Linked DNA regions of Homo sapiens: region 1 is linked to region 2. Evidence: promoter capture Hi-C in human tissues and cell types (Jung and others, 2019). All regions are on one chromosome and are shown on one strand. The core of a region is centred on a gene start or on the middle of the fragment in contact, and the rest is flanking DNA. Distances in the headings are between cores, read along the strand shown. Region 1 overlaps SCAPER (S-phase cyclin A associated protein in the ER). Region 2 holds the start of ETFA (electron transfer flavoprotein subunit alpha).

Region 1 (6,633 bases), core at 4,133-6,632, 550 kb before region 2:
TGGCAAAATTGAGTAGTTGTTACAGAGGTCTTATGGCCTGCAAAGCCTAAAATAAAAAAAAAAAAATTATTATCTGGCCCTTTGTAGAAAATCTTTGCTGACCCTTGCTCTAGAGTGTACTATAGTGACTTTTTTTTCTTTCCCTGAAGTGATGCTACTCATTAATTTCCTTCATTTGAAAATAATGTATTGCTTTTTCTTCACATATTCCCCAAAAGAGTAAAAATTAACCAGTGGGTGGGGAGAATCCAAACTGGAAGGCAAATAGTAACATACTCCCAGGTGAAGATGAGAACTAATTACATGATTTTGGCAAACAGTACTTTGGATATTGTAAGGTTAAAGATAAGAACCATACGTAAATGCTGTAATGTAGTTAGTAAATGTGTTTCTCATAGGAGTATGGGTTAGCAACTTTGAAACTACTTTATGTGTATATTAGAATTGAACAGATAAGTAAATAAGTTGTAGATAATGAAAACTGGGGATCTTATGTTGGAGAAAGAAGTTTCAGACAAGCAAAGCGAAAGGCTAAAATGAGCCCCGTGGCTTAGGATTGAAATCAATCAGTATAAACTCACGGTTTTTAATATCTGTATAGAAATAGATCCAGGTGTGTATATTGTGTGTTAGGGTGCATTCATCTAGTTCCTATTATCTCATTCTGTGAGTTGACTGGGTGATTTTTGTGATGTGATGTTGGCTTGGGTACTGGCATGGCAGCAGTTTTCTAGGGGCTCAGCTGGGCTGGAATGTCCAAAATGGCTCACTCACACAGTGGGTAGAGGATGCTGTCCTCTGGGAATTCAGCTAGGGCCTGTCAACCAGAGTGCTGCCCATGTGTGGTCTCTCTACTTGTGGCTTGGGCTTCTCATGGCATGACAGCTGGATTTTAAGAGTGACTGCCCTAAGAGGGAGCATTCTAAGAGACTCAGGTGGAGGCTGCAAAGCTTCTGATGACCTAGTCTCAGAAGTTATGCAGTGTCCCTTCTGCCGCATTTTATTGGTCAGAAAGCAAGTTACAGAGGCATATTCACGGGGAGTGGATTACATGAGGGCATGAACACCAGCAGGTGTGGTTTTCTGGGGCCAAGGGAGGCATCTTTGAAGACTACCTACCATACTTGTTAATTCATATATTATTTTTTACTCTTACATGTTTGCTTCATTTACTTGGATTGTTAGCTCTTTGAGGACAAGCACAATACTTTATATATTTATATTTTTCTTTATATTCTCCTCAGTCTCTTACTTGATGCTTTTGCACATAGTAATTGCCTCGTTAAATGTATTGCGCTTTAGGATTCCAGGAATGCTAAAAGTCCAGGCTGGCAAGAACTATAGGAGGGCAGGGAGGCACCTACTAATTGGACTGGGATTTTGGGCTGGCCCAGTGGTGAACTTGTTTCACAAAGAGGCAGGTTTCCCACACAGATTTAAGGATTAGATAAGGAGGCTGCATCCTCGTGTTCACATGGGTGTTTTATGATCTCTTTCTTCTCATAGATACTTGGCTTATAAAAACAGACTATTTTGATATGACATTCATTAGTGGGGAGGCAATTTCCTTTATTTTACTGGACCTGGCTCCCAGCTGGCACAGGGTGTTGGTGGGGCTGAATCTTAGGCCCGTGTTCTTAGGCCAGGCAGGGCTAGAGCAAGCAAGAAATTACGTATGTTCTGTGCAATAGTTTGAGTTTTAAAAATTGCAATTTAAATTTACCTGTTAACAGCAATTATTATTTGAATCCTGATAACTTGGAGATAAAATTATGTAGCTAAAAATGGAATGTTGACTTACTTTAGCGCAATCTCTAGAGAATTAAAAAAAGCGTTTTCCAAAATATTTTATGCTGAAGAGGTCTTTTAGGGGAAATATATAGGATGTTTGTGAAAACTGGTCTCTTTCACACTTGGACTTGTTGATATGTAAGGGATGGTGCAGATATTAGTCCACAGCAGTGTTGGTGCTCTTTAGGCCACTTTTTCAAACCTTAGATTATATTTATTATTTAAATAATTTGTTTATTTTTTAGAGTTACAAAACTCAGTGTTTTTAGATCTAAAAAAGACTTGTGACTTCCTTTTCTCTGTTTAACCACCCACCACATCCCAAATTAGTTTTAAGTGTTTTCTTTCTGAGAAAAATGTGAGAAATAATGACTTTGTTAAATATATATTTTGACTTATCTAATAATCTAATAAGTACCATCTTTTCCATACATAGGCTTCATTCCAGCGCTCCAATAGTCATGACAAAGTAAGGAGAATAGTTGCAGAGGAGGGTCGTACAGCAAGAAACCTAATAGCTTGGAGTGTTCCACTAGAAAGCAAAGATGATGATGGTATGTATTTAAAAAATTAGTTTCATTTTTGTTGTAAATAAGGAGGGTGTATTTAGTCCTAAAGAGATAGACTGAAAACTGTTTGCAATTAGACTTCTAGGGCTGATTAGTATGTTAAATAAGAAATACTTTTTTGTTGCTTTTATACACACATGGTTTTATAAAAGCCTTATTGTTAGTTTTGCTTTTTCAGATAATAGTGAAATTTGAAATTGGGTTTATTGTGTTATTATGACCAGCAGATTAGGGGTTGTTAAAGTGATAAGAGATTTAGTGATATGTTTAGGCTTTGTCTCCCCACCCAAATCTCACCTTGAATTATAATCCCCATAATCCCCACGTGTCAAGGGAGAGACCAAGTGGAGGTAATTGGATCATGGGGGTGGTTTCCCCCATGCTGTTCTCGTGACAGTGAGTGAGTTCTCATGAAATGTGATGGTTTTATAAGGGGCTCTTTCCCCTAAGCTCGGTACTTCTCCTTCCTGCTGCCTTGTAAAGAAGGCGCCTTGCTTGCCCTTCTCCTTCCACCATGATTGCAAGTTTCCTGAGGCCTCCCCAGCCATGCTGAACTGTGAGTCAATTAGAGCCCTTTCCTTTATAAATTACCTGGTTTCAGACAGTTCTTTATAAGCAGTATGAAAATGGACTAATACATTTAGGTTTTTTCTTTTATTAAATTCTTATAAAAATAAAAGGAGGTTTTTTAAAAATCATATTTACCATAATTAGGTGCAATTTAATGTAATACTTTAGAAAATAGAAGATATTTCTTTAGTTCTCATTATTATTATTTGAACAAGAAAAAAAATCATCTCTACCCTCCCTTTAATGGCTAGAGGCAGTGTGAAGCCACTGTTTTGAGGATGTTGAAGATTGGATAGAGATACAGAAGACAGGAGGTTGGCATACCTCACTTTGAAATTTTCTGAGAGCTTGTAGAATATTCCTCACAGTTAGGTTTGTCTGGTATCTTTTCATGACTAGATTCAGGTAGGTGTTTTTAGTAGGAATTCTATAGAAATGATGTGTCCTTTTCAGTTATCAGAGGAGGTTCGTGATAACTGTCTCGTTAATTTAATCAATTGCTTTAAGTGTTGTCTGCCAAATTTCTCTACTGTAAAGTAACTAATTTTTTCCTATGTAACTAATGAGTAATTTGTGGTAAGATAGTTTGAAACTATGTAAATATCCTGTTTTTGTTGAAACAGTACACTCACTACTTTTTAGCTTCTATTGATAATCCTTGGCTTATGTTATACCTCTGGTGGTTGCAAAGTGGTGATTTGTTAACAACTCCATCATTCCTTCTGCATTTGTTAGCCTTCTAATATAAGGAAGAGCTTTACCATCTCCTCTTTATTTTTATGTATGTATGTATTTATGTATGTATTTATATTTTCAGTTTGTGTGGACTCATGGCTTCTTATGGTATTTAATGGGGTACAGTTACTCTATTTTGATGCTTAAATTCTTCTCAATTTTTCAAATGGGAGACCCTTTAACTTGGCTCCTGTTCCTTACATGTTCTAATCATGTTTCCATTCTTTGAGAACATCTTTACACAAGATGTTTCAAGCTAAACAAGAATTCACCTGTTTTATTCTCTTAAATTTATGTTTACATTTTATTTTATTTAAAATTTTCTTTAAAGAATGTTTTAAATCTTTATCTTTTTTACATTTGGTCCTCTGATCCATTTGTAGTTTATTCTTACATATAGTGTGTGGTACGGATCTAATTTTATCTTTTTCCTTATAGCTAACAAGTTGCCTCAGCATAACTTGTTATAAAGTTTATCTTTGCCCCAGTTATTTTTGATTCCACCTTTTCTGTAGAGTGAATTTCCATATGTATTCCATTCTACTAGTCTGTTTACCTAATTCATGTGTGTCATACTATTTTAATTATGGAGGCATTATAGTATTTTTAAATGCCTGCTTGGACCTGTCTTCCCCTGTAGCTTTTCTTTCTCAGTTTTCCTAGCTATTTTTAGAGAACATTGTTTTGAATCACAAAAACTATCAAATAGAGGGGAAAATTGGATTTATCTTTTGAAATTCAGCTTCTTAACAGCTAATCTTTCCACAAGGAGCTATTACTTCATTTCTTTGATAAAAGTACATATCAACATGATTTATTACAAAAGTAAAAAAAATTCTGTATATTATAAATATTTTTATATGAAATTGTATTCTCTCATTTTCCATGGGTTATTCTGAACACAAAATAGTTCAAAGGTGTTTCTATTAAAGTTGTTTCTATTCAAAAAACAAAGGAAAGAAAATATAATAATCAAACATCTGTACATAACCCGATTTTTCATACAAGAACATAAATAATTGGCCAGTACAATTTTAAAGCTTCATTTGTGACTATTGTAACAATAAAACTGTAAGCACAGGCTGGGCGCAGTGGCTCACGTCTGTAATCCTAGCACTTTGGGAGGCTGAGGCAGGTGGATTGCCTGAGCTCAGGAGTTCGAGACCAGCCTGGGCAACATGGTGAAACCTCGTCTCTACTAAAATACAAAACAATTAGCGGGGCATGGCAGTGGGTGCCTGTAATCCTAGCTACCCGGGAGGCTTGAACCTGGGAGGCAGAGGTTGCAGTGAGCCGAGATCGCGCCACTGCACTCCAGCCTGGGGGACAGAGTGAGACTCTGTCTCAAAAAAACAAAACAAAACAAAACAAAACCCAAAAAACTGTAAGCACAGATAATTAGAACTTTCTGAATATCTGTAGTAATGATGACAAAAGAAGAATATTAACATTTACAATTTTTGTTAAGGATTATTTTATATTGTTAAAACTTTGCCACATATAGGCAATTAAAGACTAAGTTTTTAATAGCAGCTTGTTCTTGTTTTATGACTACAATATATACTTAGGTGTTTCTGAGGATAATTCCACTTAAAAAAAGTTCTCTGCTTTGTATTATTTCTGTTTCTAAGCTGGTTTTTCTGCTGGATATTCTAAAAACCTGCTGGTACATTACAGCTTGTGCTTATTCTAAGCTGGTTTTTCTGCTGGATATTCTAAGAAAACTTGCTGGTAGATTGTTTTTTATAATTAAAGGATGTGGCTCTGTAGGTTAGTGTAGCATTCTCTCCCTTTACCCCTGGTGGAACAGTGAGGGTGTCCCACTTATGTCAGATAAGTTGATAGTTAGGTACCTGTGTGTTATGGCTCACTTATATTGCTTCAGGGGACCTGGCCCCAAAATTACTTTGCAGAAAGGAAAATTATTCTGTTATACATTATAGAATTTTATTCCTATTTTGAAATGCTGGAGAGGTTGCAGAGAAAAAGGAACACTTACACACTGCTGGTGAGAATGTAAATTAGTTTGGCCATTGTGGAAAGCACTTTTGGTGATTACTCAAAGAGTTGAAAACAGAACTACCATTTGACCCAGCAGTCTAATTACTGAGTATATACTCAAAGAATATAAATTGTTCTACCATAAAGATACATGTATGTGTATGTTCATCACAGCACTACTTTCAACAGCAAAAACATGGAATCAACCTAAATGGCCATCAATGGTAGACTGGATAAAGAAAATGTGGTACATATATACACCATGGACTACTACGTAGCCATAAAAAGAATGAAATCATGTTATTTGCAGCAATATGGATGGAGCTGGAGATCATTATCCTAAGTGAACTAATGCAAGAACAGAAAACCAAAAACTGCACGTTCTCATTTATAAGTGGGAACTAAACATTGAGTACATATACATGGACACAAAGAAGGGAGCAAAAGACAACAGGGCCTACTTGAGGGTAGAGGGTGGGAGGAGAGTGAGGATTGAAAAACTACCTATCAGTTACTTATGCTAATTACCTGAGTGACAAAATAATCTGTGCACCAAACCCCTGTGAAACGTAATTTGCCTGTATAGCAAACCTGCACATGTACCCCTGTACCTAAAATAAAAGAAAAAAAAAAGAATTTTATTTCTGTTTTGAATTGCTGTTGAGAATAGTAATTACAAAACAGTAGTTGGTGTCTTTCTTATAAAAAAGAATGAGTGAAAAAATATAAAGAACTGAAACCTCACTTTTCGCAGTGAAATTGTGCATTTCATATATCAGATAAAACAAAATATTGGGGTTTTATATAGAAAACATATAGTCTTAATTTTATTGTTGAAATGAAATTTGAACTTAAAGAACTATTTCCAGATTTATATACAAGTTGAGGAGTACCAGTAACTGGACTTTGTTTTTAAAAGTTGTCAGAGTATCTGACTTCTTTAAGATGTTGATTTATTCCTATTCAG
Region 2 (7,569 bases), core at 4,828-7,327:
ATTCAGCTGGGTGGAAAAAAGTGGATAGCACATTAGAGGCCTTGGAGAATGACAACACAGGCCCCTGCAGTACTGGAGCAAGGCCATGCCATCTGCAGCGGAGACTTACGTGCCTTTTGGGAAAAAATTCTGGTGTGCTACTGGCCTGATCATAGACACCAAGCGACCACATTCTAGAGGGTAGGAGATAAATCCTGCAAAGATTCAGGGGTCTCCCACATAAGATGTTTAGGGGTCCAGAGTTAGGGCATTCCAGGATATCTCATCCAAAGAAAAAGATAAATTATTGCATCTTGCACCTCCCACCATGTAGAAAGAAGTGTTAAGGCCTGATAGGCCTCTTTGGGTTCTGGACACAGTATATTCCACATCTGGAAATACTGCTCCAACCCATGCCATCAGTGCAGGTGACATAAAAGGCTCCCAGCATTAACTGGAGCTCAGAGCATAAAAAGGTTATACAGCAGGTCCAGGCAGTCTGCTACTTGGTCATTTGTGCTTCCATAGACGGTGTTAGTGTTAGTGGTAGGAAAAGATGCTGTGTGGAGTTGATGACGAGCTCTACTGGGAGAATGACAACACAGGCCCCTGCAGTATTGGAGCAAGGCCATGCCATCTGCAGTGGAGACTTATGTGCCTTTTGAGAAAAACTCCTGGTGTGCTACTGACCTGATCATAGACACCAAGTGACCATATGCCAGGAATTACCCATCATGAGCTGGGTTCTGCCAAACCCACCGAGTCACAATACCAGGCAGTCAGTAACAATGCATCCTAGGATGGAACTGGTACATCTGGGACTTAAAATAAGTAAGACCAGAAGGTACAAGCAAGTTCCACGAGCTGGCAGCCTAGACCCCCATGAACACCACTACTACCTCAACACACCTCCCCTGGTGCACCCTTCTGGTTGTAGGTAGGATCCTTTATGACCAGCTGACAAGAGGAGGAAAAATCCTATACTTGGTCAATGGAGGGTCTGCTCAGTATGTGAGTTCAAGCTGAAAATAGATGGCAGTTGCACTATAGCCCCACTTAGGGACAGCCTTGAAAGACAATGGTGAAGAAAAATCTCCATGGGCAGAGCTTCAGGAGGTGCACTTGGCCATCCACTCTTCCTGCACAGAGAGGCATCTCAAGCACAGAATATCTATGTACTCAGTGGCAGTGAGGAATGGCCTACCTGGCTAGCCAGGGCCCCGGAAGAAGAAAGGTTGGAATGGAAGATGGGGGACAGGGAGGTCTGGGGTAGGGGCATGAGGATAGGTGTCTGGAGTGGGCACCAAGTATGAAGATGTTTGTATTACATGTTAACACCCACCAGAAACCATCCACCATTGAAAAGCCACCATGTAACTAAGAGGACAAAAATATCTGGGCCAGTTGACCTTAGTCGGCCTCTGTCATCAGCCACCTAGTGCTGGTACTAAGGGCACATGCATGAAATGACTACAGTGGCAGAGACAGAGGCAGCAGGAGCCTAATAGCATGGGCTCCCACTTACGAAGCCTGATTGAGCTACTGCCACTGCTGAATGAGCCCCCAATATGGCACCATTCCTCCAGAAGACCAGCTGGCTCCACGGTGCAAGTTGACAACATGGAACCCCTTCTATCTTGGAAAAGGCAAGATTCATCCTAACCACATGGAACCCCTTTCATCTGGAAAAAGTCGAGATTCACCATGTCAAGAAAACGCATATATTCTGGGTACTGTTTACCTTTCCTGTTCTCAGGACCTTAGTCAGCACCACTATTTGAGGGCTTATCGAGTATCTGATTCACTGTCACAGGATCCCACATAACATCCATCAGGCCAGGGACCCAATTTACTGCAATGGAGGTGCAGAAATGAGTCCGTGATCAGAGGATTCCCTAAGCGATTCACAGGCTGGATCATCCAGACACTGCCAGCCTGACAGGATATCGGAATGGCTGCTGAAGGCCCACTGGAAGCAGCAGCTTGGAGACAGCACTTGATAAGGGTGGGGTTCATCTTCTAGGATACTCCTTGAACCAAAGACCTTTATATAGTGCTGGGACCTGCAGGGTTAGAGGTCTTTGTCCCCAAAGGGGAATCTTTCACCAGAGGACACAGCAAGGGTCCTCTGAGCTATAAGCTACAGCTGCCACCTGGGCACCTTGTATGCAGGGACCAGAAGACCAGAAGGGGAGTCATCTTGGCTAAGAGTAACCTACTTGGGTGCCTCTGAGTCCTCCATTGCCCAATTATGACAATAAACAGGCTTGGGAAGGGCATGCTGGTCAGGGGTTGAGATCTTCAGTCCACGAGGCAGGATGGAGGCATTAGCCACTCAAACCAGGGGAGGTGCTAGCTGAGGGAGGGGGAGATTTAGAATGGATACTGAGGAAGGAGACGATAAGTACCATTGTGACCCCCAGAAAGTTGCAGCAGCTAGGGCTGTAGTTGGTCCCAGGGACCTTTCTCTTCTAAGTTTCCAGCAGGAATCCTGGAGGAGCTGCTCCTGAAATTGGCCTGTGGAGAAGAAAGAGGTGTTGCTCCAAATATGCTGGAGTCATCTTCAAGGGTTGACTGTGGTAGTCCTTGAATCCTCCTTCCTCCACCCTCTCTTTTCTGCCCTTTCTTCTTTGGACAAATATTTACTTTCTTTCTTTTTTTTTTTTTTTTTTTTGTTTGAGATGGAGTCTTGCTCTGTCATCCGGGCTGGAGTACAGTGGTGTAATCTTGGCTCACTGCAACCTCTGCCTCCCAGGTTCAAGTGATTCTCATGCCTTAGCTGCAGGGGTAGGTGGTATTATAAGAACATGCTACCACACCCGGCTAATTTTTGTATTTTTAGTAGTGAAGGTGGGGGGAGGGTCTCGCCATGTTGACCAGGCTGGTCTTGAACTCCTGACCTCAAGTGATCCGCCCGCCTCGGCCTCCCAAATTGCTAGGATTACAGGTGTGAGCCATTGCACCTAGCCCATTGGACACATATTTCTACAAATGTTTGCTGAACATCTAAAAATAAGAAGCAAATAAATAGGCTGGACACGGTGGCTCACGCCTGTAATCCCAGCACTTTGGGAGGCCACGGCAGGCAGATCACCTGAGGTCAGGGCTTTGAGACCAGCCTGACCAACATGGTGAAACCCCATCTCTACTAAAAATACAAAAATTAGCTGGGCATGGTGGTGGGCACCTGTAATTCCAGCTACTTGGGAGCCTAAGGCAAGAGAATCCATTGAAACTGAGGGGAGGTGGAGGTTGCAGTGAGCCGAGATCGCGCCACTGCACTCCAGCCTGGGTGACAGAGTGAGACTCCGTCTCCAAAATAAATAAAATAAAAATAAGTAAATAAAAGGAAACCATAGGTCCTGCCACCAAAGCGGCTCCTAATGGAGTGGGAAAGTCATATGCCTCTAGGGAAAATCTTCTAATAGAAATGTCTTAGCACACACATTTCTGTGGTACATAACCTGGTTGTGATTGTAGAACCCTGATACATCCCAAAGCCTCAGGGGGCGTTTCATGTGTGATCAGAACAGGTCTGGTCAGGTGTCACAGACTTTGCCCATTTTTAGCCTCTCCCTCTGCTCTGAACTGCTCCACCAGGAACCCCCAGGGGCAACGAGACTCTGGGGTGAACAGCTGCTGCTGATTTGCCCAAGCCTGGGAGCTGTTGAATCTGCCCAGTGGGGGCAGGGCGGGGCAGCCGCTCTCCCCTTGTATTTCGCTTTGTCATGGGTGGGGAGGTAGGGAAGGAGGTTAGTTTGTATCCCAGTTTTTTATATGGTTTTTAGTAAAATATCCTTTTCTGTTTTTACTAAAAGTACCCTTCCCTCTTCCTTCCACTCCCATAGGTCTCAGATTCTAGTCCAGTGTGGGACTGGTTAGGAGGTAAATGCAGTGAGACATGGAATACTAAATTGCCCCTCCCACAGGCAGATTGACTGGGGGACAGGGGTCCACAGCTCTGTCGGCAACATGAGTTCAGACGTGTTCGAAGTGGGTGCAACTTAAGTTTAAGATGGGTCCTCACCTCCTTGTTCATAGAGCTACAAGAGTGAAGAAGAGGAAAGGATTAATTCATCCTGCAGAATTGAGAAAGAGCTTACAAAAGAAATGTCACTTGGGCCAGGCGTGGTGGCTCATGTCTGTAATCCCAGTACTTTGAGAGGCCAAGGTGGGAAGATCACTTGAGGCCAGGAGTTCGAGACCAGCCCTGGGTAACCCTGCCCCTACAAAAAAAAATAGCTGGGCATGGTGGCACATGACTGTAGTCCCAGCTACTTGGGAGGCTGAGGCAGGAAGATTGCTTGATCCCAGGAGTTCGAGACTGCAGTGAGCTGTGATGGCACCACCGCACTCCAGCCTGGGAAACAGAGTGAGACCTTGTCTTAAACAGAACAAAAGAATTGTCACTTGATCTGGGTTTTAAAGAGGGCTGTCAGATGGGGAAGGGAATTTCAGACAGAGGGAAGAGCAAAAGCGCAAGGCCCTTAGAGTGCTTGTTAGTTCAGACAAAGCTCTTGCTTCAGGGAATTTACACTCCAATGCAGTGAGATCAGCAATAAACAAACATGTGCATCCTGTTAGGCAGTGATAAATGCCAAGAAAAAAAATCAAACAAGGTGATAGGGCGTCTGGGAGTGGCATGGGTGCTATTTTAGGTGGAGAGGCTAAGGCCGGCCTTTCTGCAAATGTGTTTTTTGAGCAGAGACCTGAATGAAGTGAGGAAGTACGCCACGCGGGTAACAAGAGAAGGCCATTTCAGGCAGAGGGAAGAGCCAGAGTGCAAAACTCTGAGAGGAGCAGGCTTGTGTGCTCAAGAAGGCCTATGTATCTGGGGAACAGTGAGAGAAGAGGGCAGTGGGAGGAGAGGGAGCCACCATAGGGCTTTGAGCAGAGGTCATGATCAGTCCATCAGTTTGGAGAAGAGGCTTCTGGAAACATGGGCAGAAACAGAAAGACCAGTTAGGAGGCTTTGCAATGATCCAGGCGAGAGAGGACAGGGTCCTGAGTGAAGGTGATACCAGCAGAGGAGCAAAGGGGTGTTGGAGGATATTGCTGGATTCTGGTTATCTTTTGAAGGTAGAGTCAACGGGATTTGTTGATAGACTAGATAACATTGGAAAGGTAGGTTGTTGCTGAATTGGGAATTGAGACAATTTCTGAACATACCACTTCCCTCTTAAAAATTTCGTGTTAAAGTCCAGACTCATTAGCAGTCATTTATTCATTTGCTTATTCATTCAACACATACTGATTGAATGCCTAGTATGGACCAGGCATTGTGCTAGGTGTTGCAGGTAGACACAAAATTTAAAAGTAGGGCATACTGGCCGGGCGCGGTGGCTCACGCCTGTAATCCCAGCACTTTGGGAGTCCGAGGCGGGCGGATCACGAGGTCAGGAGATCGAGACCATCCTGCCTAACACTGTGAAACCCCGTCTCTACTAAAAATACAAAAAAATTAGCTGGGCGTGGTGGCGGGCGCCTGTAGTCCCAGCTACTCGGGAGGCTGAGGCAGAAGAATGGAGTGAACCCGGGAGGCGGAGCTTTCAGTGAGCTGAGCTCGCGCCACTGCACTCCAGCCAGGGTGACAGAGGGAGACTCTCTCTCTCTCAAAAAAAAAAAAAAAAAAAAGGGCATACTTTCTGCCCTTACAGATCTTCAGTCAGATGGGTGACACAGACAAGTACTTAGGTTATTACAACCCATGTGACAATTGCTACCATGGGGAAATACAGGGGGAAATAGGGGCATATAGGAAAGGTATCTAATTGGAATTGGCAAGGCTCCACTCGTACCTTACCCCGAGGTCAGCTCAGTTTTGAAGTTCACTCTAGCAGTGCTGACCATTGCGGGGCTGTGAGACAGTACAGTCTGAGCTCGGTCATCAGCGGGTGGCCAGCTTTGTCTCTGCCGCTCCGCGGCCCGGGCTTACTCGAAGGTCCCCGGGGAATAGCCTCACCTTTGCCCCACTTCCCAGTCTAGCCCCTAACTTCCCGCCGTCTATTGGCTGCGCAGCCGCCCAATGGGCAGGCGGAAACCGCGGGCTCGTGCTCCCGGCCTAGGGCGTCTTATCTCGTTCGCGCGTCTCGCGAGCATTAGGTGACTGGCTGAGGCGGCGCCAGTTGGCCGGGCACGGGGCTGCTGTAAGGCCGAGGTTGCGGCGGAAGCGGAGACCATGTTCCGAGCGGCGGCTCCGGGGCAGCTCCGGCGGGCGGTGAGTCCGGACTGGGAAGGCGAACCCAGGGACGGCCCCCCGTCAACCCGCCGTCCCTATGGGGTCTTGCAAAGATCACTGGCCCCCTCAGATTCGACCAGCCCTCGCGCCCGCAGGCCGGTCCCCGCCTGGGACTTGGGTCCAAAGTTCTGGGGCCTACCCTGGACTCCCTGCGGAACGCCAGTTCGGGGCAGAAGTCAGAGGTTTGGGGTCAGGGTGACCCCGAATGATGTGAATTTGCGCGTCTGCTGCCCCTTCTTCTGGCCCACTCTCTGCCCTGCCGTTTCCCACCTTTGTCGGTCACTCTGGGCACTTTCGGGCCGCCAGGTCCTCCACACTTGCTCCACACCCGAGGGAGCAAAATGTCACCGGGGAATGCCCTGTTGGGGAAAGTTTCAAACCTAGATTCCTCCCGGAGGCCGGCATTTCTGGAAGAATTAAACACTTTGGGCGCATCGTGGCTACTCCGACCCACTCACTGTCAAGGGCGGGGGTGGGGTGGGGTGGGAGGCTGCGTGGCCAGTTATGGAAGCTGGTTCTGCTTTCTGGTTTATGGAGCAGGGCTGAATTTAGGTGATTGTATTTGTAAAACCTGCGATCCGATTTGACAGCTTTAGCCAGTTTTGAAAGGCAGACGTCTTTTTATATGCTTCAGGCTGACCTGCTTTTAACCAGCAGATTGTAGATTAGGTTAACTGGTGACAGTGGTACATTTTCAGTGTTTCATTAGTGACAAACCACATTTCTCTCTTCTGTTGTGAGAAGGACTGATAGGAAACATATTTTCCTTCTCATGCTGTGGGAAAGGAGTATTTGGAGACTGACCAGTCACAAGTCAAGTAACAATAATTTATATTGTGGATTGTGTAGTTTTCCTAGTTTACATTTAGGTGAAATGAGAAACAAGATTGGTAAACTTGGGTCAGAAACTTACCTGATGGTTTGTACCTTTTCTCCTTTTTTTTTTTTTTTTTTTTTTTCTGGGCATGGATATTTTCCCATCCACTCCTGGGATTTTTCTCTCTGAGGCATAGCTGGAGCTCTTTCTAGATGTCTGTAGACATTAGACTTTTGTTTGTTTGTTTGTTTGTTTGTTTAAGAGACAAGGTCTGGCTCTGTTTCCCATGCTGGAGTGGAGTGCAGTGGCACGATATGGGCTCACTGCAACCGTCGCCTCCCAGGTTCAAGCGATTCTCCCACCTCAGCTTCCCGAGAAGCTGGGATCACAGGTGCGCATCATCACGCCTGGCTAATTTTTTTTTTTTTTTTTTTTTTTTTTTTGTAGAGACGGGGTTTCCCCATGTTACCCAGGCTGGTCTCGAACTCTTGTCCTCAAGTGATCCACCTGCCTCGGCCTCCCAAAGTCCTGGAAT

Evidence for each region. Contacts are between HindIII fragments. The study calls those that stand out against the background at their distance.
Region 1: a fragment that was not itself captured here is called in contact with the fragment with the promoter of ETFA in region 2 in 2 of the 25 tissues and cell types used here (heart left ventricle and lymphoblastoid cells).

Annotation. Positions count from the first base shown.
Region 1 is chr15:76,858,128-76,864,760 of GRCh38, reverse strand. It overlaps SCAPER (S-phase cyclin A associated protein in the ER), which reads left to right. Exons shown (of 32, transcript NM_020843.4): 3 at 2,228-2,345. Among named protein-coding and RNA genes, the nearest start is that of SCAPER, 44 kb to the left of the region's middle. The HindIII fragment of the contact is 5,107 bases long and covers 2,829-6,633 here.
Region 2 is chr15:76,309,977-76,317,545 of GRCh38, reverse strand. It overlaps ETFA (electron transfer flavoprotein subunit alpha), which reads left to right and starts at 6,077. Exons shown (of 12, transcript NM_000126.4): 1 at 6,077-6,196. The coding sequence starts at 6,158. RefSeq lists a cis regulatory region at 3,472-3,893 and enhancers at 5,455-5,504, 5,565-5,614, 5,824-6,324, 6,325-6,825. The HindIII fragment of the contact is 24,969 bases long and covers 1-7,569 here.